5 separate regions of the Homo sapiens genome follow, and all the other regions are linked to region 3. The links are contacts of gene promoters, found by promoter capture Hi-C in human tissues and cell types (Jung and others, 2019). All regions are on one chromosome and are shown on one strand. Each heading gives the region's core, a stretch centred on a gene start or on the middle of the fragment in contact. The rest is flanking DNA. Distances are from core to core; before and after follow the strand shown. Region 1 has its middle 78 kb from the start of MIR8079. Region 2 has its middle 22 kb from the start of NRAD1. Region 3 holds the start of SMIM2 (small integral membrane protein 2). Region 4 has its middle 43 kb from the start of MIR8079. Region 5 has its middle 27 kb from the start of SMIM2-AS1.

Region 1 (2,700 bases), core at 1-2,500, 110 kb after region 3:
CCAGCCTGAGGTCCCGATTCATGCTCTGCTGGCCAGATCTAGAAGGATAGTGCTCTGCATTGCAAAAAGTACCTCTAGCCTGGAACAGGACCTGTCCTCTTTGATTTTTCTACATTTCACAGGTTTAAATTAAGTACACTCAAAGGTGTTATTTGTAGCAATATCCTAACTACATTGAACTACCATTTAACATGCTGTTTCTACGGGAAACATGTATTGCAAGTTCTAACTCTAAGTGCTAGGAGTGTCCCAGCATCCATCCCATCTTTGGTGATGACAGCATCCATGGAATCAACATCTGAGGTACAGAACGTCACTGGGGAGGCCAGGAGAAAGCTCCTGGGTGCAGATAGCTTGTGATGGCTCCATATCTCTGTATATATCTCAACACGACCCTCACACTCGATACTCCAGGCATGTCCACCTATCTACAGAGGGCCCGCCATCCTCATTTCTTCACCACTGCTGTGTGCCATGCTACATCCTCTGCCTCACCTTCACCCAGCTGCTTGTTTTTATCCTGTGGGCCACTTCTTTTCCTAACCTCTTCCCCGCTCTGTTGTCTGACACTCCAAAGCCACCAGAGCATGTTGTACTTTCCCCAGTGTGGTGCTTCTCCACACTGGATTGTGACTGTCATTTGTGGTCAGCATCTCCCCCAGACTGGTAGGAGGAGGAGAGGGTCGGACTCTTCACAGCAGTATCCCCAACACCTGACTGGTGTCACATGCTTCGTGGCCAGCATTGAATGAATGAGCAAATGTATTAACAAAAAATTGAAGGAATGAAGAGATAAAGCAACTTTTTGCGCTAAATCACTGGTATTCTCAAATGGGTCACATGACACACTGTCCTCTCAAGGGACAGAGACAAAGCTTGCATCTGAAACTCCCCATACCTGCACATTCATTGCTCAGTTAACCTTCACAATAACCAACATGAGGTATTTCTTTTACAACAATAAAAAAGTAAATTGATGACTAGAGATATTGAATAAATTGCCCAGCACCATAAAGCTAGTAAATGGCTGAACCCTGAACTCCAACCCAGCTCCCCTGACTGCAAAACCTGTGCTTTCCCACCACACCGGGCTGGCCAGGGGTTAGGAGCTCACTGATGCCTGATGGCAAACATACTCCTGCTGTCGCTGCTGCTGCTCCCACTCCTGACTTCAGTATTCCAGGCTCACACAGCCAAATCAGCTCTCAGAAGAAGTCAACCCCAGAGTAGATTCTGGGTCACAGCTGTTACAATCAGGAAGTTGGTCTTTAACCCCAGGTAGAAGCTTCACTTCACTAGGGTGGGATCTTTGAACACAGAGCATCCCTTCCATCTGCTGTCCCACACCTGCCTCCCTATGCCTATTCTCATCAACACATATTTAAAACCTTTGAAGGACAACCTCAAGCCACATGCAAAAAACTTCCTAATTATTAGGGAGCGAATTTGCAATATTTTAGTATATATAAGTAAGAGTGAATGAAAGAGACATAGAGGCCGAGGGAGAGGCAGAGAGAGAGGGAAACAGAAAGTGAAAGCAGAGGCAGAGTTATGCATAACAGGTTCTAAAATACACTATTTGGTAGGGGTGTAATGATGACGCACATTGCTAGAGAAAAGAACAAAATGGAGGAAGCTCTCTGGCGTCTATGTGCCTTATAAAATTATTAATTTAACCAATCCCTAAAGTCATGAAGTATTAAGTGACAAGTTGTCTAGCTACAATAGTATGAGTCAACTACTGCATATTCCACTCTATTTTAACATTGAAGCCTAAGATGATTTAGGCTAACAAAGTCATTTTCCAAACAAATCTAAAAATCAAATCTTCATACAAGAAAAGAGGGAGAAGCACCAGACTTTAACCCCAAATGGCAGCCAGTCTTTATGAGATTCTGTTACAGGGTCTGTAAAACTCTGAGCCAGCTGCATGGAAAGGACCCAGGACCACTCACACTGACTGATGTGGTCTTTGAAAATGTGCCAGCAAGGCTTACAGAGAAGGAAACCAGAGCTTTTCAGAACTCAGCTCCTCTGCACAGCGACACAGTGAGATGGACAAGGGCTGCTCTACTGAATTTGCAAATGTGAATTTAACCCACTTATGAAAACAGTACCGGGCATGGCTATATCACTTATCAGCTCATCAAGTTTGTTCTGGAGGGGAAGCAGTTTTGTGTGGCCCCACTATCAGGCACCAGCCTCATAAAGAAGCAAGCAGCACAAATCCTAAATTCTGTGGTGTTTAATGGAGGCCATGTCAACACAACAGCGGGAAAGAGAGGGACTCTCTACCAACCGGTATACTAAGACATAATCTAGAGGCCAAAGGACTCCAGATAAATTACCCATTGCCCAAAACAAAAGGAAGTCTTTTGATAAGAGAAATATTTACACCTGGGGAGTAAGCCATGGTCCCAGGAAGAAAATGTCTTAAAATGAACTTTGCATCTATTTAGTTTTGCATTTTCAGTCCCCAAATACCCCATCACTGTTTTCCTGTTTTCTTTTTCTCTCCCATGAGCTCACTATCCCTTTGCAAATTTAGGGGAAATAGGACTGCTGTTGACTCTGCAGCTGCAAAAAAAAAAAAAAAAAAACTTGCTAAGTGGAAGAAACCATTTAAAAAGGGCCACATACTGTATGATTCCATCTACATGTTACATATTTATAGCTGTCCCTCAGTTCTTGGATTTTCTG
Region 2 (2,700 bases), core at 28-2,527, 120 kb before region 3:
TGCCATCTTTTAATCCAGCTGTGGGGAGTTGCCTGTAAAACTGCCCTTTTCACTCTAAAATTCTCTCTAATCATTTGTATACTCACTGATTTACATAGCTGGAAGATTTGCCTCCTGAAATAGGAGCCTTTTTTTTTTTTTTTTTTTTTTTTGGAGACGGAGTCAGGCTGGAGTGCAATGGCGTGATCTCAGCTCACTGCAACCTCCACTTTCTAGATTCAAGTGATTCTCCTGCCTCAGCCTCCCTAGTAGCTGGGAAGACAGGCACACACCACCACACCCAGCTAATTTTTTTGTATTTTTAGTAGAGACAGGGTTTCACCATGTTGGCCAGGATGGCCTCGATCTCTTGATTTCGCGATCTGCCCGCCTCGGCCTTGGACTTCTTAAATTGCAATCATTTTAAAGGGATGTTTGACACATCATGTAGCGGCAATCCTTTTAGCTAGAGGTAACTGCTGATATAAAACTATCAAAACTCATATGCACCTCTGTTCTGTTAAGTGTTGACATACTGGACACTGTGTATCTATAGTATAGCCTCATTTTCCAAATCTAATCTAGCCTAAACAGTTTGGTGGGGCAAGAAAAGCAAGTTGTAAAATAATCTCTTTGTCATAACCCTCAAGTCATATCTTCTGGACTTGAAAGGTATGCTGGATGTCCTATGTGTTGGTGCCTCATGCTGCTCAGCAGGAAATCTGAACTGTTCTCACCTCTCTGGTCCTTCTGTCTCACCAGGAGATACACCCAAGAACATTCTCCACATTGTCTTAATTCCCCTGCCTTCTGCCTTGGGTCACTCAACCCAAATAGAAGAGACTGCACTGTTCATATTAGGGATGCCTTAATCCTATAGTTCAAAGATTGAAATTTGACACAAAAATCTACTTTTTCTAGCTCTAACAGTTCTGGTGAATATTAAAAGGAGGAAGTCTTTTGTTAAAAAAAAAATAGCCTTCAATTCAGTAGCATCGTCTTTATAAGCAGAGGATGCACAATCACCCACTTGCTGGTCACAGCTCTGCTTTAGGTCATCTGAAGTCGATTACTGCATCCTTGGAGGATGGTGTGAAATGCCAGTGAAATCGTGAGCTAATTCAATGACATGCCCATTGTTCCACTCATTTAGGCAAACGCTTTTTCTGAACAGGGAAGATTCTCGCATATTCCTTACATACTAAATTAACTCAAAAAACTTAAGAATGATACCCCACTGCTGCTTGTCTCTAGTTTTCAGCTTTCATCCTGGCGGGCAAGACCCTCAGCATCTTCTCAGTCATAAAGTACTTGTGAGCATTCAGAAAGGCCTAAGTTAACTATCGTCGGGTTACACAGGTTTGGAAGCTTGAGCACATTCTACGGCATTTGTGGTATGGCCTCTGTAGATTTGATATCCTTAATCATAGATAGCAGATGGAGCTGTGAGACAATGACCTTCCAGGGTCCCTTCCCCAAATAGACTTAATGCTACTACACTTCAAAAGCAATCACTGTCCATCCGCTCCAGGTCACCGTGCAGTACTGGCCAGGGGCCCGGGCTACCAGAAAGACACTAGCTAGAGTTGAATGCTTAATCTCCCTGCTCCCAAGTACAGACAAGAGGAGAGAGAGAGGCTCATGGCTTTCTAGAGTTTTATGTGCTTAAGCGCTGATAGGAGCTACCTTTTGCTGCATGTTGGTCACTCTGGAATATAAGACACCTGGGACAGCAGCTAATGTGGCTAAGGAACAGTCAGGCCAGATTTGTTGTTATTTATTTAGCAGAACACAGAATCCAAGAATCCTCATGAATGCCACTCAAAAGCATGACTCAGGCAAAGGGAACAGACAATAAAAGGAATGACTTCACATTTCACAGCAAGAATTCTCTGGCCTCGGAGAACACTAGATACCTCTGGACCACACATCCCTTTGGCAAAATACTTTTCTCATCTACAGATCACTGCATGGCTTGGTTTACCTGAAGCCTCTTATGGTTTCTCCACCTAATAACCCTCATGATATTTTTCTAGAAAAGCAGCATAGATGGAGATGGAATGTAACACCTGAAATAAAAGGATTTTGCAGGAAATAATGTAAATCAAGCCTTTTGCCCTTAATGACCCATAATAAAATGCTCTTGCTACCAAGCTCTGCAGGCAACCCAGTGCAGGTTGCCATGGAAATGCCCAGCTGCTCCTCTGCGCAGTTGCTTAATGATCAGTGTGATGCCAGGCTCTTGAGAGAAGCACAGGCTCAGACAACTCTTTACAGCCACAGGGACAGTCCACTCAGGACTGCAGTTACGTCTGAGTCGGAGCCCCTGTGTCCAGGTATAATTAAAATGCACTCAGACCTATGACTGGAAATGCTTTCAGCAGAAAATTAGGTCACCTTTTTAATTTCTCCATTCATTTTCATTTCTCCACATGACTGCCCAGTCAGAAGCAAGACAGAAACAGGGCGGCCATGGCACGTTGCTGCAGATGCCGCTTCACCAACCTGTGACCTGGCTCCCGCTCTACACAGGTGGGATATGCAGGTGCTCTGCCTTGACCCATGCCATAAAACGTCACCTTTTGGTCCCCTCTTCCCATGTTCCCTGCACCTACCTTTCACAGTGACTGGACCCGAAATTCTCACTATTACTCATTGCTTGATTTAGATAACAAAGGCAAGAGCTTTTGCCCAGAATATTATTTTCAAAATGTATTTATT
Region 3 (2,700 bases), core at 173-2,672:
AAGCACATTTCTCCAGGTGGCCTGGAGCAGTTTACAAGATGCTGGCTCATTCCTCATCATGCCACTTGGAAGGAGAGCAAAAGGTGGGGAAAGAGGAAGGGCCAACATCATCATCTGCATTTTATGTGGGGAAACTGAGGCTCACATAAGCCGTAAAGTGAAATGTATAGACATTTATGAGTCAGAAATCGACCATGGAAGAGGCAAAATGAGCTTATCTGAATCATGAGTGGACTATTTCTTGCCCAACAATTTCATGCAGCTCTTCCAACACAACTGTTTTGATACAGCAGCCTCAAAACAAGCCAAAATTCAGACTCGCTGTATTTGGTTTATAACCAGTTTCCCATCTTTCATTCCTTCTCTGACTTCTACCTGACTTCTGAATTTGGTTGACCCTGTTTTTTTGTTTGTTTGTTTGTTTTGTTTTACTTTAAAAGACCCTCAACCCTCCTGGAGTCCTGACCTGCTATTTCTTTCATTTTGAACCTCTACCAGTCCTTTCCTTCATCTGTTACCAATCCATACACCCTTGATGCCTGGAGGTAAGATTGACAATGGAGGGGGGGAGGTGAAGATCAAGGTTGAGGTGAAGCTCACAGATGGCCTGCAAGATGCCTATTTTACTCATCATTTATTTTTTAAAAAGCTGAACATTTATCGGCTGAATCTTTGAGCCATACCAAAATATCCTCATGTCAAAATAGCTGCAGTAAAGTGGTTCTATTAAAATAGCTGCCTCCAAAGAACTGAGAGTGGAGATGTCACCTGCTTCTGGCACCTGACTTTGGTCCTCTTCTGCGTGGCATTGCCTTCTGCTCTGCTGGATTCTGGCGTATGGCTCATCAGAGGAGGCACTAACATCAGGGCTGCCTTTTATCTTGCTGATCCAAGCGAGGACTATGTAGGTGTCACAGATGAAACTCGTCCAGAAGCCGAACAGGATGCTAATGGCATGGCCACGTGTTTCCAGCACCCTGTGAGGCAGCTGGCTGGCATCAATCCTCTCCCCAGCTTCCATCCCACCCCCATCCACCCATAAGCTCTTCTTGGGTCAGAAATGCAATTCTTTGATGGTGCCAGACAGCCAGATGATGCTGGAAAGAAGAAAGAAAAAGAAAAAGCAGGTTTCTAAATTAAGCACAAGGCTCGTTTATAAAAATAAATAGCCACAGCCTAGCAACGTGCTCACAGCTCAGCTTTCCTCCGTAATAAAACCTCTGTGGCTGAAGCCTGGGATGACACAGCCTTCAGAGGGCCCCACGCCCTGGCCCTCCTCATGCCCTGGCCTCTCCCAGGATAATACTCACCTGGAGAGTGCTGACAGTGGTACTTTTGGGGCCCCACTCTTCATTCAAGGCCAACCAAAGGCCAGGCTCCAAAAAGCAGAAGGAAGGCAGAGCTTAATGAGGCCCATGAACACTTACAGACTCTTGGCAGTAACTAATACACCTGTAGCAAAAGTGGTTGAAGTTCCTTGGGCTACTCTGTTGAAATAGGAACTTCTAGTTAAGACCATGTCTTCTTTGTTCACCATTGAACAGTACTCAGCTAAGCACAGGGCACGTATTGAGTACTCAACCAGTATGTGAGGAAAGACTGGTTAGAGGTATAAATGAATGAATGAATGTTGCCATCCCATTATTGATGCTCTCCAAACTCTTCACTACAAATGGAGTCAGTTCCAGAATCCAAAGCCAGCATTCTTCTCCTGATTATGACATGCACCAAAGAGGCATCCCCTGAGCTGGATGTTTAAATCAGAGCCCACAGCTGAAGTGAGCACCAAGATGTACTGAGCAAGTGTGGACTCTTACTGATCCAAGTGGTGAGGCTCTTACAATGGGCAAGGGCAGAGGGCATGCGATATGTAGGTAACTATTGTTAGCATTCCTGAATCTTCTCCTGTTCTTTAGGCAGCAGCAGCTTCAAGGGTGAACTGTTGCTCAGCAGAGAAATGGCAGGAAAAAATAGGACATTCGCTTCTGGCCTTAGTCCTGTTGGAACACAAAAAGTGGAGTCTGCAATGCTGTTGGAGGCTCAACAGGTCAAATACATCAGTAATGGGCATGGTATGGCTGGGGTCATACGGAGACAGTCCTTAGAGCACTGAAAATGTGATCATCCTGAATCCCATAAGGATCCTTATGAGGTTAGAAGGGACAATGTGGCTCCACTTTGATGACTGACAGCAGTTGCTTTGGTGAGTTTCTACGTATTCCCTTGTGATCAGAGAGTGGTACAGGACAGCATGTCAAAATCGTAAACCACCATCTCAGAGCAAGGCCCCTTAGTTACAATATTAAAAAGATCAGAGAAATTGGCACATAGCATCATTTAGAAATCTGTCTTCAGGCATCTTTGTCTGGCCTGGCTGGAAATAGTAAAACCATATTTATGTCATTGAGAAAAAGGTTCTTAATTAAATTCAAATGTATAAGAATATATCGTAGGTCTATTTTTGGAACAATAATCTGGGAACAAAAAAAAATCTAAACAGCAACAAAACTTGTACAATAGCATTTAGCTTCAGACAGCAGCATACAATAGAGAAGAAGGAGTCCTCATAGACTCTGGACTCTTAGATTGATTCAATCCCACAAGCTAGAGCACCAAAGTCATGGCACTGGGACATTTAGGAAGAGGAACTCTAGCAGTGACCTGATTAGGAGACAGCTCCAGCAGAGAGTCAGCACATAG
Region 4 (2,700 bases), core at 34-2,533, 78 kb after region 3:
GTGTGGTGATTAGTCATTTCACAATGAGGGGATGGCTTCCTGGGGTGTTTTCAAGCTTTTGGGTGGCGGCACAGTCTGCAAGAGGGGGAAAGGCTCTGAGAACAAGATATGACTAAAGAATAGTTTCTCATTTACCATTTTTAAAAATAAAACAATGCACAGCCAATCACGTGTGAGCTGAAGGGTAGAGTCAAATGTTTAGGTATTTTCTGACCTTTCAGATCCATTCAGACTTTCTAAAAGCCACAGACATAAACACCATATCCAAATCTGGAAGCTTAAAAAGTTTGGACAAAATAGTATACATTTTGTTCAACACTTTATTGCAAAGGAAAAAAAAGGAAAGAAGTATACAAAGTTTTTCTTCACAAAACAAACACGAAAAACTAACTCTGCCAGGAAAAAATGTGAAACCCATAGACAGATCATGCTAAGGGTCTAAGGGGACAGCTTGCCTCCCCTACGGCATTACTGAAAAGCAGATGTGATGGGCAGCGTCACAGAGGCCTGTAATCCAGTTAGGTGCAGCAGCCACAGGCAGCCTACACTCTTCCTAAAAGCCTCCCTCTCAGGGAAACCCAGGGCCTCTTGGACTGTTCCAGGCTTTAAGTGCATATCAGAAAAACATTTGCCATATGTTTTAACTTAATTTCTAAGTCAGCGTGGGCCCATTCATTCTCATTCCTTCCATAACAGCCTTCCTGAGTAATTGCCTATTGACTTTGCTGCTTGCTGGTCATACCTGGGTGTGCATCTGTCTTACACCAGACACACCTAACTCTCAGCCTCTGTAGTCACAAATAAGGGTTCTATTTGTTGATTTAGAATGGCAAGTTGAAACTAGCACAGTCTTACACGTAGAAGATACTCAATCAGTATTTTGTTGATGGAGTCACATCTCTATCTCTCTCCTTATTCTTCTAGCTTACTTCCCCCACCCCTACTTTTATTTCTTTCTTCCCCCTCTTTTGTCAAAAGGTTGGGCTTACCAGCAAATCCACTGAATACTTGCTAACCCTCTGATTTACACCACACAAGTAGCACCAGTTTCACAAGACAGAAAAAAACTCACCTTGGGGCCCCAAGGTTGGCCTGGATCTTTGAAAGTGTAGGGTCATGATTTATTTTAGGCAAGTGGAGATCTAAAAAGGAGCAAAGATAACAGGACCCTGCAATTCACCAACTGGATCCTGTATATAAGAACCTTTGTGATTTCTCACCTTGCTAATTTCCTGCCCTCTCTTTCTGCAGGTTCTTCCCCAAACCATCATGGACCAGTTGGACTCTGAGAAGAAAAGTTTCTGATCTTTAGTTCATTCTTCCAACTCTCTAGAAAGCAGGAAAACTGAGAATGAAAAATTCTAAATTACTCAGGACTCATGGGTTGCCAATAGAAGAAATACATCTTAAACTAGCTTAAGCCTGAAAGGGAAATGTATTTGTTCATGTAACTGAACCATAACGAAGGATGGTGGACTGAGGGACCTGAAAACACCCTCAGGACTCCCTCCCTCTCCTTTGTGCTCCTGTCTGATGCCGTCTTCCCAGACCTGCTCACTCTCCATAAGGTGGGGATGTGGCCATCAGCAACGTGTACTTCCCCGAAGCTTGTGACCTGAGTAGATAGGCATCTCCCAACCCACAAGGATTGAAAAGTTCCTCTAGGAATTATGTGGATTGGCCCATTCACTATGACATGTTCCCCCTAAGCAGCTAAAGGAACTGGGTCTGTTACCAGAAGAGGTGGGAGAGGGGTGCTAGGCAGATTGAACAACAGCCACTACAACATCTGAGGAGGAGACCTCCGTGAAGGCCACCAAGTCTGCTAGCAGATATTTCCTCCCTCGGATCTCTCTCCCTGTCCTCACAGTCTCATAAGTGAGGATTAAATACTACATGTGGCCTAGGAGATCTTAGACCCTCCACACGAAGATATAGTAACAATCAACATCCTAGTGTTCTGGCAGAGAAAAAATCAGAAAGAATCGTTTGCCTGATTTTTCCATCAATACCAATAATTAATTAGAGATGAAATTTGTGATGGACTCAGAGAATTAGAGAAGATCTAAGGGAATCTAGATGATTTCCTACCCCTAACCAGAGCCTCACAAAAAAGGGTGAAGATCTATGGCCGTCTTGCGTTTGGTGTGAGGCTGGACAAGGAAGTTCCTAAGGTCCTTTAGACTCTGTGAGATCATGAGTCCGTAAAACCCTTCCAACTTGAAATTAGTTGATTCCTTCCTTAAATTTTCTGGGACATTCCCCCACTCCCTCCACTCTTATTAGCTGATTTTACTGACCAATAGGCCTTGAAGTTGGGCGTTCCATCTAGATGTCTCACATCAACTCACCTTTTGCAAATTAAGCCCATACCCTTAAAGAGGGGAATTCTCAAGCCATTAGAAACTAGAGAGTCAGCTGGGCATGGTGGCTCACGCCTGTAATCCCAGAACTTTGGGAGGCCAAGGTGGGTGGATCACTTGAGGTCAGGAGTTCGAGTCCAGCCTGACCAACATGGCGAAACCCCGTCTCTACTAAAAATACAAAAATTAGCCAGGGGTGATGGCATGCACCTGTAATCCCAGCTACTCAGGAGGCTGAGGCAGGAGAATTGCTTGAACCTGGGAGGCGGAGGTTGCAGTGAGCCAAGTTTGCACCACAGCACTCCAGCCTGGGCAACAGAGTGAGACTCAGTTTCAA
Region 5 (2,700 bases), core at 61-2,560, 78 kb before region 3:
ATCATAGAATGATTTATAATCCTTTGGGTATATGCCTAGTAATGGGATTGCTGGGTCAAATGGTATTTCCAGTTCTAGATCCTTGAGGAATTGCCACACTGTCTTCCACAATGGTTGAACTAATTTACACTCCCACCAACAGCATAAAAGCATTCCTATTTTTCCACAACCTCTCCAGCATCTGTTGTTTCCTGACTTTTTAATGATTGCCATTCTAACTGGTGTGGGGTGGTATCTCATTGTGGTTTTGATTTGCATTTCTCTGATGGCCAGTGATGATGAGCATTTTTTCATGTGTCTGTTGGCTGCATAAATGTCTTCTTTTGAGAAGTGTCTGTTCATATCTTTTGCCCATTTTTTTGATGGGGTTGTTTTTTTCTTGTAAATTTGTTTAAGTTCTCTGTAGATTCTGGTTATTAGCCCTTTGTCAGATGGATAGATTGCAAAAATTTTCTCCCATTCTGTAGGTTGCCTCTTCACTCTGATGATAGTTTCTTTTGCTGTGCAGAAGCTCTTTGGTTTAATTAGATCCCATTTGTCAATTTTGGCTTTTGTTGCCATTGCTTTTGGTGTTTTAGACATGAAGTCCTTGCCCATGCCTATGTCCTGAATAGTATTGCCCAGCTTTTCTTCTAGGATTTTTATGGTCCTAGGTCTTACTTTTAAGTCTTTGATCCATCTTGAGTTGATTTTTGTAAAAGGTGTAAGGAAGGGGTCCAGTTTCAGTTTTCTGCATATGTTTTCCCAACACCGTTTATTAAATAGGGAGTCTTTTCCCCATTGCTTGTGTGTGTCAGGCTTGTCAAAGATCAGATGGCTGTAGATGTGTGGTGTTATTTCTGAGGGCTCCATTCTGTTCCATTGGTCTATATATCTGTTTTGGTACGAGTACCATGCTGTTTTGGTTACTATAGCCTTGCAGTAGAGTTTGAAGTCAGGTAGTGTGATGCCTCCAGCTTTGTTCTTCTTGTCCAGGATTGTCTTGGCTATGTGGACTCTTTTTTTGTTCCATATGAAATTTAAAGTACTTTTTTCCAATTCTGTGAGGAAAGTCAGTGGTAGCTTGATGGGGATAGCATTGAATGTATAAATTACTTTGGGCAGTATGGCCATTTTCACAACATTGATTCTTCCTATTGAAACTGAGTTTGAAAGAATTGCAGTTACATCAAGGACTCATACTAATTCTCACATCAGGTTAGAATCAGTAACAGGTTTACAACTATAAAAACAACGACAGCTCGAGGATTTTGTTCTTTAAAAATGAAAAATTAAGTAGACATTTGTAGATTTTACCTTTATTTGTTGGCTGAAGTTCTGTTTGGCATAAAATAATTACGGGCCACTCTGAATTATACTTACCTGTCCTATTATCTCATATTTAAGAAATGGCTGAACCACTGGGAAGATTAGGAGGGAGGAGGGGCACTCCTAGGACCTGAAGACTGCAAAGAATTTTCTGGGTCTCCAGAGTCCTTTATCCCCAGCATGGGATGTTCTTTCAAATATTTTGATTATTCACTTTTATCATTGAAAGTTATATGTATATTAATTTATTATTATATATTAAGAATGTATATAATGTGCATCTATTATGTTCAAGTACAATAATTTTAAAAGATGAAATATAGGTGAAATAAACAATACTTTAATAAATGCATATTTTCTTAATAAAATAGAACCCATGTGCTCTCACTATAAACATTATTATTGAATATACTTCTGTATCAGTTAGCCTTTACTATATAACAAAACACTCAAAAACGTAGTGACTGAAAACAACTTTCATTCACTTCCTCACAATTCTGTGAGGTGGCAGCTTGAGCTTTGCTTCTCTGGATGGTTCAAAGGCTGCTCACTTCCAGGCTCAGTCATGCGACTGCAGTCAGCTGGCATCTCAGCTGGAGTTGGATGGTCCAGGATGTTCTAAGTTGGAAATTGGCAGCCTGGATGTCTTGGTTTTCCTCCATGTGGCCTCTCTAGTGGGATAACTTGGGCTTTTTCACATGGTCACAGGGCTCCCAGCAGCAACAGAGGCAGGTCCAAATGTGTGTTTTTTTTTTTTTTTTTTTTTTTTTTTGAATTGTAGTCTCACTCTGCGGCCAGGTTGGACTACAGTGGGCAAACTTGGCTCACTGCAATCTCCACCTCCCAGGTTCAAGTAATTCCCCTGCCTCAGCCTCCCGAGTAGCTGGGATTACAGGCACACACCACCACACCAGGCTAATTTTTTGTATTTTAGTAGAGACAGGGTTTCACCATGTTGGCGAGGATGGTCTCTATCTCCTGACCTTGTGATCTGTCTGCATTAGCCTATAGATTTTATTTTTAGAGCATTTTTAGGTTTACAGAAAAAATTTAGCAGAAAAGCAAACTTCCCAAAATACCCCTTCTCTACCCACTTGCATCCTCCCCCAACAGTTTCCCCTATTAACATCTTGCACCAATACAGTACTTTTGCTACAGTTGGTGAACAAATATCAATACATTATTATTAACTAAAGTCCACAGTTTACATTAGGATTCACGCTGTGCTGTGCAGTTCTATAGGTTTTGCCAAATGCATGATGTCATGTATTCACCATTACAGTTTTATATACAATAGTTCCACTAAAATACCTTAAGTTCCACCTATCCATCCCTCTCTCTCTCCCCCCATATTCTTGGTAACCACTGATTTTTTTTTTTTTAACTATCTCT

The links. Contacts are between HindIII fragments. The study calls those that stand out against the background at their distance.
Region 1: a fragment that was not itself captured here is called in contact with the fragment with the promoter of SMIM2 in region 3 in 2 of the 25 tissues and cell types used here (aorta and hippocampus).
Region 2: a contact is called between a fragment that was not itself captured here and the fragment with the promoter of SMIM2 in region 3, in 2 of the 25 tissues and cell types used here (bladder and dorsolateral prefrontal cortex).
Region 4: a fragment that was not itself captured here is called in contact with the fragment with the promoter of SMIM2 in region 3 in 4 of the 25 tissues and cell types used here (aorta, dorsolateral prefrontal cortex, hippocampus and 1 more).
Region 5: a fragment that was not itself captured here is called in contact with the fragment with the promoter of SMIM2 in region 3 in 2 of the 25 tissues and cell types used here (IMR-90 fibroblasts and aorta).

What each region holds. Positions count from the first base shown.
Region 1 is chr13:44,273,011-44,275,710 of GRCh38, forward strand. No RefSeq gene overlaps it. Among named protein-coding and RNA genes, the nearest start is that of MIR8079, 78 kb to the left of the region's middle. RefSeq lists an enhancer at 1,452-1,631. The HindIII fragment of the contact is 5,200 bases long and covers 1-2,700 here.
Region 2 is chr13:44,043,194-44,045,893 of GRCh38, forward strand. No RefSeq gene overlaps it. Among named protein-coding and RNA genes, the nearest start is that of NRAD1, 22 kb to the left of the region's middle. The HindIII fragment of the contact is 3,892 bases long and covers 1-2,700 here.
Region 3 is chr13:44,159,835-44,162,534 of GRCh38, forward strand. It overlaps SMIM2 (small integral membrane protein 2), which reads right to left and starts at 1,423. Exons shown (of 3, transcript NR_197392.1): 1 at 1,311-1,423; 2 at 769-1,097. RefSeq lists an enhancer at 1-554. The HindIII fragment of the contact is 7,742 bases long and covers 1-2,700 here.
Region 4 is chr13:44,237,577-44,240,276 of GRCh38, forward strand. No RefSeq gene overlaps it. Among named protein-coding and RNA genes, the nearest start is that of MIR8079, 43 kb to the left of the region's middle. The HindIII fragment of the contact is 4,630 bases long and covers 1-2,700 here.
Region 5 is chr13:44,082,437-44,085,136 of GRCh38, forward strand. No RefSeq gene overlaps it. Among named protein-coding and RNA genes, the nearest start is that of SMIM2-AS1, 27 kb to the right of the region's middle. The HindIII fragment of the contact is 6,764 bases long and covers 1-2,700 here.